Linked DNA regions of Homo sapiens: region 2 is linked to region 1. The links are contacts of gene promoters, found by promoter capture Hi-C in blood cells and fetal thymus (Javierre and others, 2016). All regions are on one chromosome and are shown on one strand. The core of a region is centred on a gene start or on the middle of the fragment in contact, and the rest is flanking DNA. Distances in the headings are between cores, read along the strand shown. Region 1 holds the start of NDUFAF4 (NADH:ubiquinone oxidoreductase complex assembly factor 4). Region 2 holds the start of CCNC (cyclin C).

Evidence for each region. The method cuts DNA at HindIII sites, captures the fragments that hold promoters and counts their contacts. A CHiCAGO score of 5 or more calls a contact.
Region 2: the fragment with the promoter of CCNC here is called in contact with the fragment with the promoter of NDUFAF4 in region 1 in 2 of 17 cell types (non-activated CD4 T cells and fetal thymus); the score reaches 7.4 in non-activated CD4 T cells.

Annotation. Positions count from the first base shown.
Region 1 is chr6:96,896,262-96,900,766 of GRCh38, reverse strand. NDUFAF4 (NADH:ubiquinone oxidoreductase complex assembly factor 4) reads left to right here and starts at 2,876. Exons shown (of 3, transcript NM_014165.4): 1 at 2,876-3,101; 2 at 3,920-4,023. The coding sequence starts at 2,966. It also overlaps a transcript of KLHL32 not described here. RefSeq lists an enhancer at 2,954-3,053. The HindIII fragment of the contact is 8,617 bases long and covers 902-4,505 here.
Region 2 is chr6:99,565,673-99,570,090 of GRCh38, reverse strand. CCNC (cyclin C) reads left to right here and starts at 1,431. Exons shown (of 12, transcript NM_005190.4): 1 at 1,431-1,595. The coding sequence starts at 1,564. It also overlaps the pseudogene TSTD3. RefSeq lists enhancers at 1,074-1,123, 1,244-1,533, 1,654-1,733. The HindIII fragment of the contact is 11,578 bases long and covers 1-2,634 here.

The DNA of each region.
Region 1 (4,505 bases), core at 1,627-4,126:
CTCTGAGGGCTGTCCTGGGCCCCTTGAGCCAACTGTCACCTGGGTTTAGCTACTGTAATCCTTTGGAGAACGCAGAATGCTGTTGAATTATGTTCAAAAGAAGGAGTACCCAATGGTAAAAGTCTAGGCAGAGAGAAAGACATGAGGGCAGAGGGAAACAAAGTGGGGACTATTTCTGTGGCCAATGTCAGGCACAGGCAGGTGGCATTTTATGCCCGAGAACTAATGATTCCCACCCATATTCCAACCTTAATAAATCTAACAATACCACCACGTGTGCTGAGCACGTTAATCAGCAAATAAAAATCAAATTTAGCATTTTTTATTTTTTAAAAATTAAATTATTGAAGAACATGAGTCTTACCGTAATCTCAAATTTTTTTATCACTTTCATTCACCTATTCACCAGAGCTTCAGAATATGTGTCCTTTTTAAAACTGCTCCCTTCTCCTCTGAAAAATGAAAAACAATGCAAATATTGAACATCAGATTCTGAGCTGGGCATTGTACTAGACACATATTTTTAATCTGTGTAAAACCCCTTAGGTGATTACTATTATCCCAATTTTAAGATGAGCAAAGTGTGTTCAACCACATTAAGTTACTTGCATAAGGACTCACTTCTGGAAGCAGGGCTAGTGTTCAGGCAGAGAGAACTTGTCTGGGGTCTGGACTCCAGCTCAGGGATCCTACTTGTCTTTCAGTTCATTTGACCTTTATTTGATAATTGTTTAGTACCTACTGTGTACTAGCTGTTCAATGTGTTGAACAGTGAACAAAACAGACAAAGTTCTGTCCTCAGAATTTACATTCTAGTGTGTTGTCAAGACCCTGGGTTTATTAGTATCTTAAGATATTCAGCCATACACATGCATCATAATACTCCACTCAGATGGAAGCTTCATTCTAAGCAGCATCCTAGTTATACTTTCCTTGGGGATCTGACTTCAATCCTTAACATAAGCCCAACAGGAGTTCTTAAGTTCAGAGTTCCTGTTAATTTATATGTTTTGACAAGAAGAGCTGGAATTATGCATTTATGGTTCAGGTTTTATTTCCATGATTCCCAAAGGGTGACAGCCAATTGTGAGTTTCTGATGGAGTGCATCTGCCTTCTGTTTTGCAATTTGAGGGCCTGAGCAGCACTGGGCCAGGATCAGGCAAAGCAGCTGACACATGCTGGAAGCTCTTTCAATGTTGAATCCAAGCTCTATTGGAATGTGTGAATTCAAATAATTATTTCATATTGTAATCCCTACTGTCCTGACAGTCACTTCTAACATTACTTTTTCATACTGCCCGAAGTTCGGTGGAATTTCTATGAAAATGAGATTTTCACTTTTAAAATATTTTAACAGGCAGTGAGTCGAATTGCTACCATGATTAAAGCACATAGACATAATGAGGCAGATTAAAATTTCTTAGCACCCATAGAAATAGAAATACCGTGCCTAAAAAGCCCTGAATCACAAGCATGCTTAAAAGTATCAAAGATAGAAATCTTGGAGCAGCCTGCCACCTTCAGGATAACTTCCCAGTTAATGCTATCTGAGATCACTGATTTCAGCTTCTATAAATTCCAAATACCAATCCCTGTAAAAATGTTCAGTATAATTAAATAAAGGGCATTTAAATTAGAGTGGCTGAAGCCGTCTTCCTTGCAGTGCTTTTGCTCTGATTAAGCATTATACTTAATGATTACATTAGTTTTCTTTTTAAAAAACTTTCCCTTTCTTCATTTTGGTTCTTTGATTCTTGTTTTATTATTATTATTCTATTCGATTATCTTTACATCAATATTTTCTTACTTTAAGCTGGTTAAAAACATCCACTCTACTTCATTTTGCTAAGCAGAGATCAGAACACTAAAAATAGATTTTGCAGCCACAGTAAGAGAAATACTGTAACTTCCTTCCTACTGCTTCCTTCCTGGTGGGTTTTATTTTAGATTAATAACAATATTTCTAAAGGGTCTTAAATAAAAGCAGCACTACAGTAACCCATTCAGGAAATGGAGAGAGACGGAGAAGGTGAATGTAACACTCGTTTTTTTGTTTGTTTGTTTTTTTTTTCTGACGTCTTATTGTCTGTTCCTTTCATTAAATTACACAGAGGCTTAAAAAGAATGAAGAAGGCAAGAGAGAAGAGAAATAGGAGAGGGAATGACTCAGCATTTAGTAGCATGGAGAAGTAAATTAGTAGCAAAAATAAGATAAGGGAAAGTATAACTAAAATCGATACCATTAGGTCAAATGAGAACGGGATGTAAAAAATAATGGAAAAAGAATACAGTGGCTTGAAAATGCATCAGGCGGGGGGACAGGAAAATAAGAGGCATTTAAATGAGAGCGGCTGAGAACAAATACTCATCGAAAGGGAACATCCTTTCATTATTTTCCTTTCACAAAAGCAGGAAAGGGCAACTTGAGAGCCCAGTTTGACCCTGGTTCAGTAAGTTCCATTTTTATCGGCTAACTCTTTGGTGGCATTGCCCTGTGAAACAACTTCAAGGTCAACTTCCTTACGACTTTGATTTTCAGCTCTTCACTGAAACTTTGGAATCACGTGGAGTCTTATCCAATGCTGGGCCTCACTCCACAAGAATTAAATCAGAAAGTCTGGGGTAGGGCCCGGCACAGAACTTTACAGAGCTTCCCGGGTGACTCCCTCGGAGTTCCAGCGTTAAAAGCAACCGTGGGTCTGGGGACTTAAGCCCCGCCACCTCCCGCCGGAAGCGGCCCTCGTGGGAGCCGTCACTCGCCCCGAAGGGAGGGGCTCCCTTTTAAATGCCCTGGGCAGAGAAGCGGTGTGTGGCCTCCCGAGCGCTAGGGGGCGACGGGCACGCATTTAAGCGCCCGCGGCGGGGCTTCCCCTCACTTGTGCGCATGCTCCGGGTGTCCCGGAGTTGTCCTGCGCCGGTGTTCCCACGTGCGGCCTGAACCTGAGCGCATAATGTTATGAGGAGATGGGAGCACTAGTGATTCGCGGTATCAGGAATTTCAACCTAGAGAACCGAGCGGAACGGGAAATCAGCAAGATGAAGCCCTCTGTCGCTCCCAGACACCCCTCTACCAACAGCCTCCTGCGAGAGCAGATTAGTCGTGAGTGGTGCGAGGGCGTTTCGGGGCCCGGGGGCGCGGAGTCCCTGTGCTGCCCGGCTGTCCCTAGCGTGGGTCCGGAGGCCGAGGGATCGGCGTCAGCCTGCTCGGCCGCAGCCGCTCGGGTTGGCGGAGCGTTGGAAGGGGGAGCCGCCAGGCCGGTGACATTGAGACTGTCCTCCGCGCCCGCGGTGAGGTCGGCGGCCCCGCCTACTTCCGAGACCCAGAGGCAGCAGCCAGTGCTCCCGCTAACCAGGCCCTCGCCGGCTGCTGTCACGGACTTGATACAGGGAATCAAAATCCGAGAGGGTCACAGAGCTTTCTCTAGGGGTCTTCACTGGACGATGGACGCAGAGCCTGACCTGGAATTTTGATTTCCATCTAAAGTATTTTCCTAACAGTCCAAATGATTATGTTTATTTTTTAAAAAAATTAAAGTGGTTAGGCCGGGCGCGGTAGCTCAAGCCTGTAATCTCAGCACTTTGGGAGGCCGAGGCGGGCAGATCACCTGAGGTCAGGAGTTCGAGACCAGCCTGGCCAACATGGCTAAACCCCGTCTCTACAAACAATGCAAAAATTAGCCGGGCGTGGTGGCGCGCCTGTAGCCTCAGCTTGTCGGGAGGCTGAGGTGGGAGAATCTCTCGAACCCGGGAGGCGGAGGTTGCAGGGAGCCGAGATCGCGCGACTGCACTCCAGTCTGGGCAACAGAGCGAGACTCCGACTCAAAAAAGAAAATAAAAGAAAGCGTTTGTGTTAAGCGTTTAGGATATTACAGGAAATTTTCCTTGATTTTAATATTGTGACTTTTTTCCTTTCCTTAGTCTATCCAGAAGTTAAAGGAGAGATTGCTCGTAAAGATGAAAAGCTGCTGTCGTTTCTAAAAGATGTGTATGTTGATTCCAAAGATCCTGTGTCTTCCTTGCAGGTAAATGTGTGTTTAATTAAGTGAATACACAATTTACTTATTTTGGGGCTTCAGGAAAATGATTAAGTGTGGCAAGTAGTAAAAAGAGTGCTCTGCAAGTGTGTGTTGTGATCAATCTACACGCCTTGGCAAAGTTTAAGCACACTGGTGTAAGACAGCAAGACACTTATGCCTTGGTTCACTGGATATTTACCAGAATTCTAAAATAACTTGTGGAAGTATTGATACAAGCAACTGTGTGAATTATTTCATAGTATTTCAGAATTTGTAGGATTTGGTAAGGCATTACTTCCAGTGGTTGTCATTTGAGTGACAAAAGCAGAGCTTTAATATTATTTTCTCATTCTTCTGTGGATTGAGGTATGTTCTAATCTCAGAGACTCCTTTAGTAAGTGGTGTTGTTGGATTTTGTGGGGTGTTCCTGTTTGTTTTTTTAAGGATGTATTCAGATAGGATATTTAAAATTAGAAGGATCAAAGAAT
Region 2 (4,418 bases), core at 182-2,681, 2.7 Mb before region 1:
ACTCCAGCCTGGGCGACAGAGCGAGACTCCGTCTCAAAAAAAAAAAAAAAAAAGATCGCGGCCGGGCGCGGTTGCTCACGCCTGTAATCCCAGCACTTTGGGAGGCCGAGGTGGGCGGATCACGAGGTCAGGAAATGGAGACCATCCTGGCCAACATGGTGAAACCCTGTCTCTACTAAAAATACAAAAATTAGCTGGGCGTGGTGGTGTGAGCCTGTAGTCCCAGCTACTTGGGAGGCTGAGGCAGGAGAATCGCTTGAACCTGGGAGGCAGAGGTTGCAATGAGCCTAGATAGCGCCACTGCACTCCAACCTGGGCGACAGAGCAAGACTCCGTCTCAAAAAAAAAAAAAAAAAAAAACCGCCTGATCCAGGCCGGGCCTGGTAGCCCACGCCTGTTAATCCCAGCATTTTGGGAGGCTGAGGCTGACGGATCACCTGAGGTTAGGAGTTCCAGACCAGCCTAGCGAAATCCCCTCTCCACTAAAAATACAAAGATTAGATGGACGTGGTGGCACGCGCCTGTAATCCCTGTAATCCCAGCTACCTGGGAGGCTGAGGCAGCAGAATCATTTGAACTGGAAAGGCAGAGGTTGCTGTGAGCCGAGATTGTGCCACTGCATTCCATCCTGGGTGACAGACCCAGACTCCGTCTCAAAAGTAAAAAACAGGCAGGGTGCGGTGGCTTACGCCTGTAATCCCAGCACTTTGGGAGGTTGAGGAGGGCGGATCACGAGGTCAGGAGTTTGAGACTATCCTGGCCAACATGGTGAAACCCTATCTCTACTAAAAATACAAAAATTAGCTGGGCATGGTGGTGCGCGCCTGCAGTCCCAGCTACTCGGGAGGCTGAGGCAGGAGAATCGCTTGAACTCCTGGAGGCGGAGCTTGCAGTGAGCCGGGATCGTGCCACTGCACTCCAGCCTGGAGACAGAGCAAGACTCCGTCTCAAAATAAATAAATAAATAAAGTAAAAAAAAAAAAGGAACACTTGATCCCTGAGAACAAAGTCATCTTCATTTATTTCTCTTTCCAATCACAGGAAAAATAAGTCACAAAACCTTGTACTTTATTACAATGCCACATTGTTCTGTTTTTGAAGTCCTGGAAGAGGTAATAACAGAACCCCGTATCTGAGCCACTTCGCCTAGGTTAGACCCACTCAGCAACTCCCGTGCTGAAGACAGGAGACCGAGCGGCTTGGGCCCCCGGCCAGAATTCTCAAGACGCTCTCGCGAGAGCCTTCCAACCGCCGCGAGCTCTCGTGAACACTAGTTCTCTTCAATCTCAGCACCTCCAAGGGTCAGCACCTCCCCTCCGGCTCCCTCCGCTACCGCGGGCCGGAACTTTTGTCGATAGGAACGGGTTTGCACAGTTGAGTGTTGTCGGCCGGCGTGAAGGAGACTAGGGGGCCATCCTCTTCCTTTCGCCGTCGCCGCCGCGGAGCGGAGTCGAGCCGAGCTGATTTGATCGAGGAGCGCGGTTACCGGACGGGCTGGGTCTATGGTCGCTCCGCGGGCCGCTCCGCCGGCTGGTGCTTTTTTATCAGGGCAAGCTGTGTTCCATGGCAGGGAACTTTTGGCAGAGCTCCCACTAGTAAGCGATCTTCCGTCTTCTCACCTGGGGCCGGTTTTTGGGGGAGCTGTGAGGACGGGGCCTGTGACTCCCCTGGGCCTGGATCCCAGCTCAGTTCCGAGTGCCGGGGTCCTCACGGGAGACCGCAGCGGTCAGAATCAAGATGCGCTTTTCTGAGGCGACTCCCCTCCCCGCCCCCAGCCCCAGTTTCGGGGAGGGAAGGATCTGTGAGGGGGAGGGGTGGGAGAGAGTTTCGTCTCCCGGGAAGGAACGTTTCGGAGTTTAATTTCGGATTCTTGGTTTAGCTAGGCCGCGGGGGGTCGGATAGAGTGGGCACAGGTACGGGAAGTGTGACTCAGCTCAAGACTGTGAGGCTACCTGTTCAGGACAGTTGTGGCGTGCTTTTACCTGGGGTTTCTTCGGGTGATCGGCGTCGTGGTCTTTTGTCATTCACTGTATATCTTGAGTGGATTTAATATTATGAGGAGAGGAGAGAGTCTGGCTTGTTTCTGCCTACTAACCGCTTCTTGCGCGTACTTTATGTCTAGATGGAGTTTTATATTGATAAGGTATAGGGCAGGTGCCCTCTAAATTTATCCATTTCATTAGCCTGTGCTTTATATTTTGTTTTAAAGGCCTATTTTTCCAGTGACTTTGTTTACCTGTTTCTTTAACCTTTTTCATGAATAAGTTCTTGTTTCTGTCAGTGACCATGTGAGAGCTAGAATAATATTAAAAACATTTATCCCTAAATACATTTGTTTAAGCAGGCAGGAAGGTGCGTTATGGGGTAAATTGAACATTTGAGTAGGCTTTCCACTGTATAGTTGAAAGATGAACAGAATTTGACAAGGTATCTTGGTATAATTTTTTATGCTAAGAAAGCATTAGTAAGTAATTTAAATTTCGATTCTGTGAATAGGATCTGTTCCTGATGTTCATTTTTTAGCCCTTTGCAAAGAGAAAAAAAGAAACAATGAACTCAGTAACCTATTTAAGGAAAAGCAGGTTTTCCTCTTGCTATAAAGTGATTCTGTGGAGATGACATGTTAAAGAAGCTTTACCACTGATCATATGTGTGTGTGTGTATATATATGTGTGTGTGTGTATGTATATATATATGTGTGTGTATATATGTTGCATTGTTTTCACACACTGAAATATTGCTTGGGCAAAATTAAAGTATCGAAAGTTTAGGTATTGGAGTTAGAGCTCCTGAAAAAAAAAGTTTAGGTAGTGGAGAAGAGATATTCTGATAAACTCTGAAAGAAGCTGAGAGAATTGACAAGTAGCTGACTGTTGATTTTTCAGTTTTTCAACTTAAAAAAAAAAGATCCTGCCTTATTTTCAATAGTGTTCTCATTATGCTTTCATTTATTCATAGCATTCTAAAAATATGTTTTCACTTTTCAAATATAAAATTATTATAAAGTTAAGTGTACTTCTTTGAAACTATTCTTTTCTCCCAATTCAAATAGTCCTAAAAGAAGGGACCACTTTGCCTTGCTCAAATCCCTTGAGCAGTCATGGAGTTTCTTATCTGGAAAAGGTAACGAGTGTGGAAGACAAGACAATTCTGGAAAAACAAACGAAAAGATTATGAAAGGCCATTGTCTTAGGTGAATTTGGTGAAAGAGGGCAATTGATATTAAATATGCTATATTTCATGCTTCTAAGATGCACGTTTTCACACTTTAACATCTTTGAAATCAGCATGGCAGTTGCTTTCATAGCATATGAAATAATGATGAATCCTAGATGTAATCTTAAATTTGATGAAATGCAGTATTTATAAAGTTTTTTAGTTTATTCTCCATACAGAGTTCTGTGAGGAAAACTCATAAAATGTTTGTGAAATTTATCTTTTTAAAAACATAAAATGACTCTGTGGGGATGAAATTAATTAGCAAACCACAGTGTAGTTGAGGTAGAACAAAACACAGTCTGTGACCAAAATGAACTAGAAGGGCACTAAGTATTTGCTGGTTAATTGAATGCATTAATGAACAAGTAACAAAAATAAAAACTACAAAACTAACTGTGGATACTTTATTGGTATCCACAGGAAACTGAAAATACAGTTACTTACTATCTAGAAAATAACATCATAATAGTACCATATATGGAATGTAACCAAAGCTTGAATGTATTAGAAAATCAATATCCTGAATAATTGAGAGATAATAGAAATATTCTATTTAATAATATTAAGAAGGAAACATGAAATAAACCTAAAGAAACAGAAAGACTTAAAATAGATAACGATGCTAATATATTAAAAGGAAAAAAATTATAAAAGCTAATTCTTAGAGTAAATAAAAACAGTAGACCAAACTACTGCTAGTTAAATCAGGGGAAAAAGGAATGATACAAAAATACAAAATTAGGAATGAGAAAAGTAAACCCAGGGGTACTTTTGGGTTATCTCCAGGGTTTTAAATTTGAAAGCCAAAGCAAGTTAAGAGTATTACCCAAGAGCTATGTGTTATTTCATGGGTAAATACTTTCCATCTTTCAAGAGAATCTCCTTTTGAAATTGTTCCATTTCATACAGAAAGAAGAAAAGCTTTCTAATTCTCTTTATGAAGCCATGATAACACAGAAAAATCTAGCAAAGGGAACACTAAAAACAGTCTCACTTTTGAATATTAATGCAAACATTGTAAATGAATTATTACCAAATGCAGTCTAACATTACATTGAAAGTATAAAACATGACATTGGATTTTATTATAGAAATATAGTCAATATTAAGAAATCAAGCAGTAAAGGTATTAAAAAACTAATACAATTCAACATTTATCCTTGACTAAAGCTCTTACTAAAACAGAAATAGGATGCTTC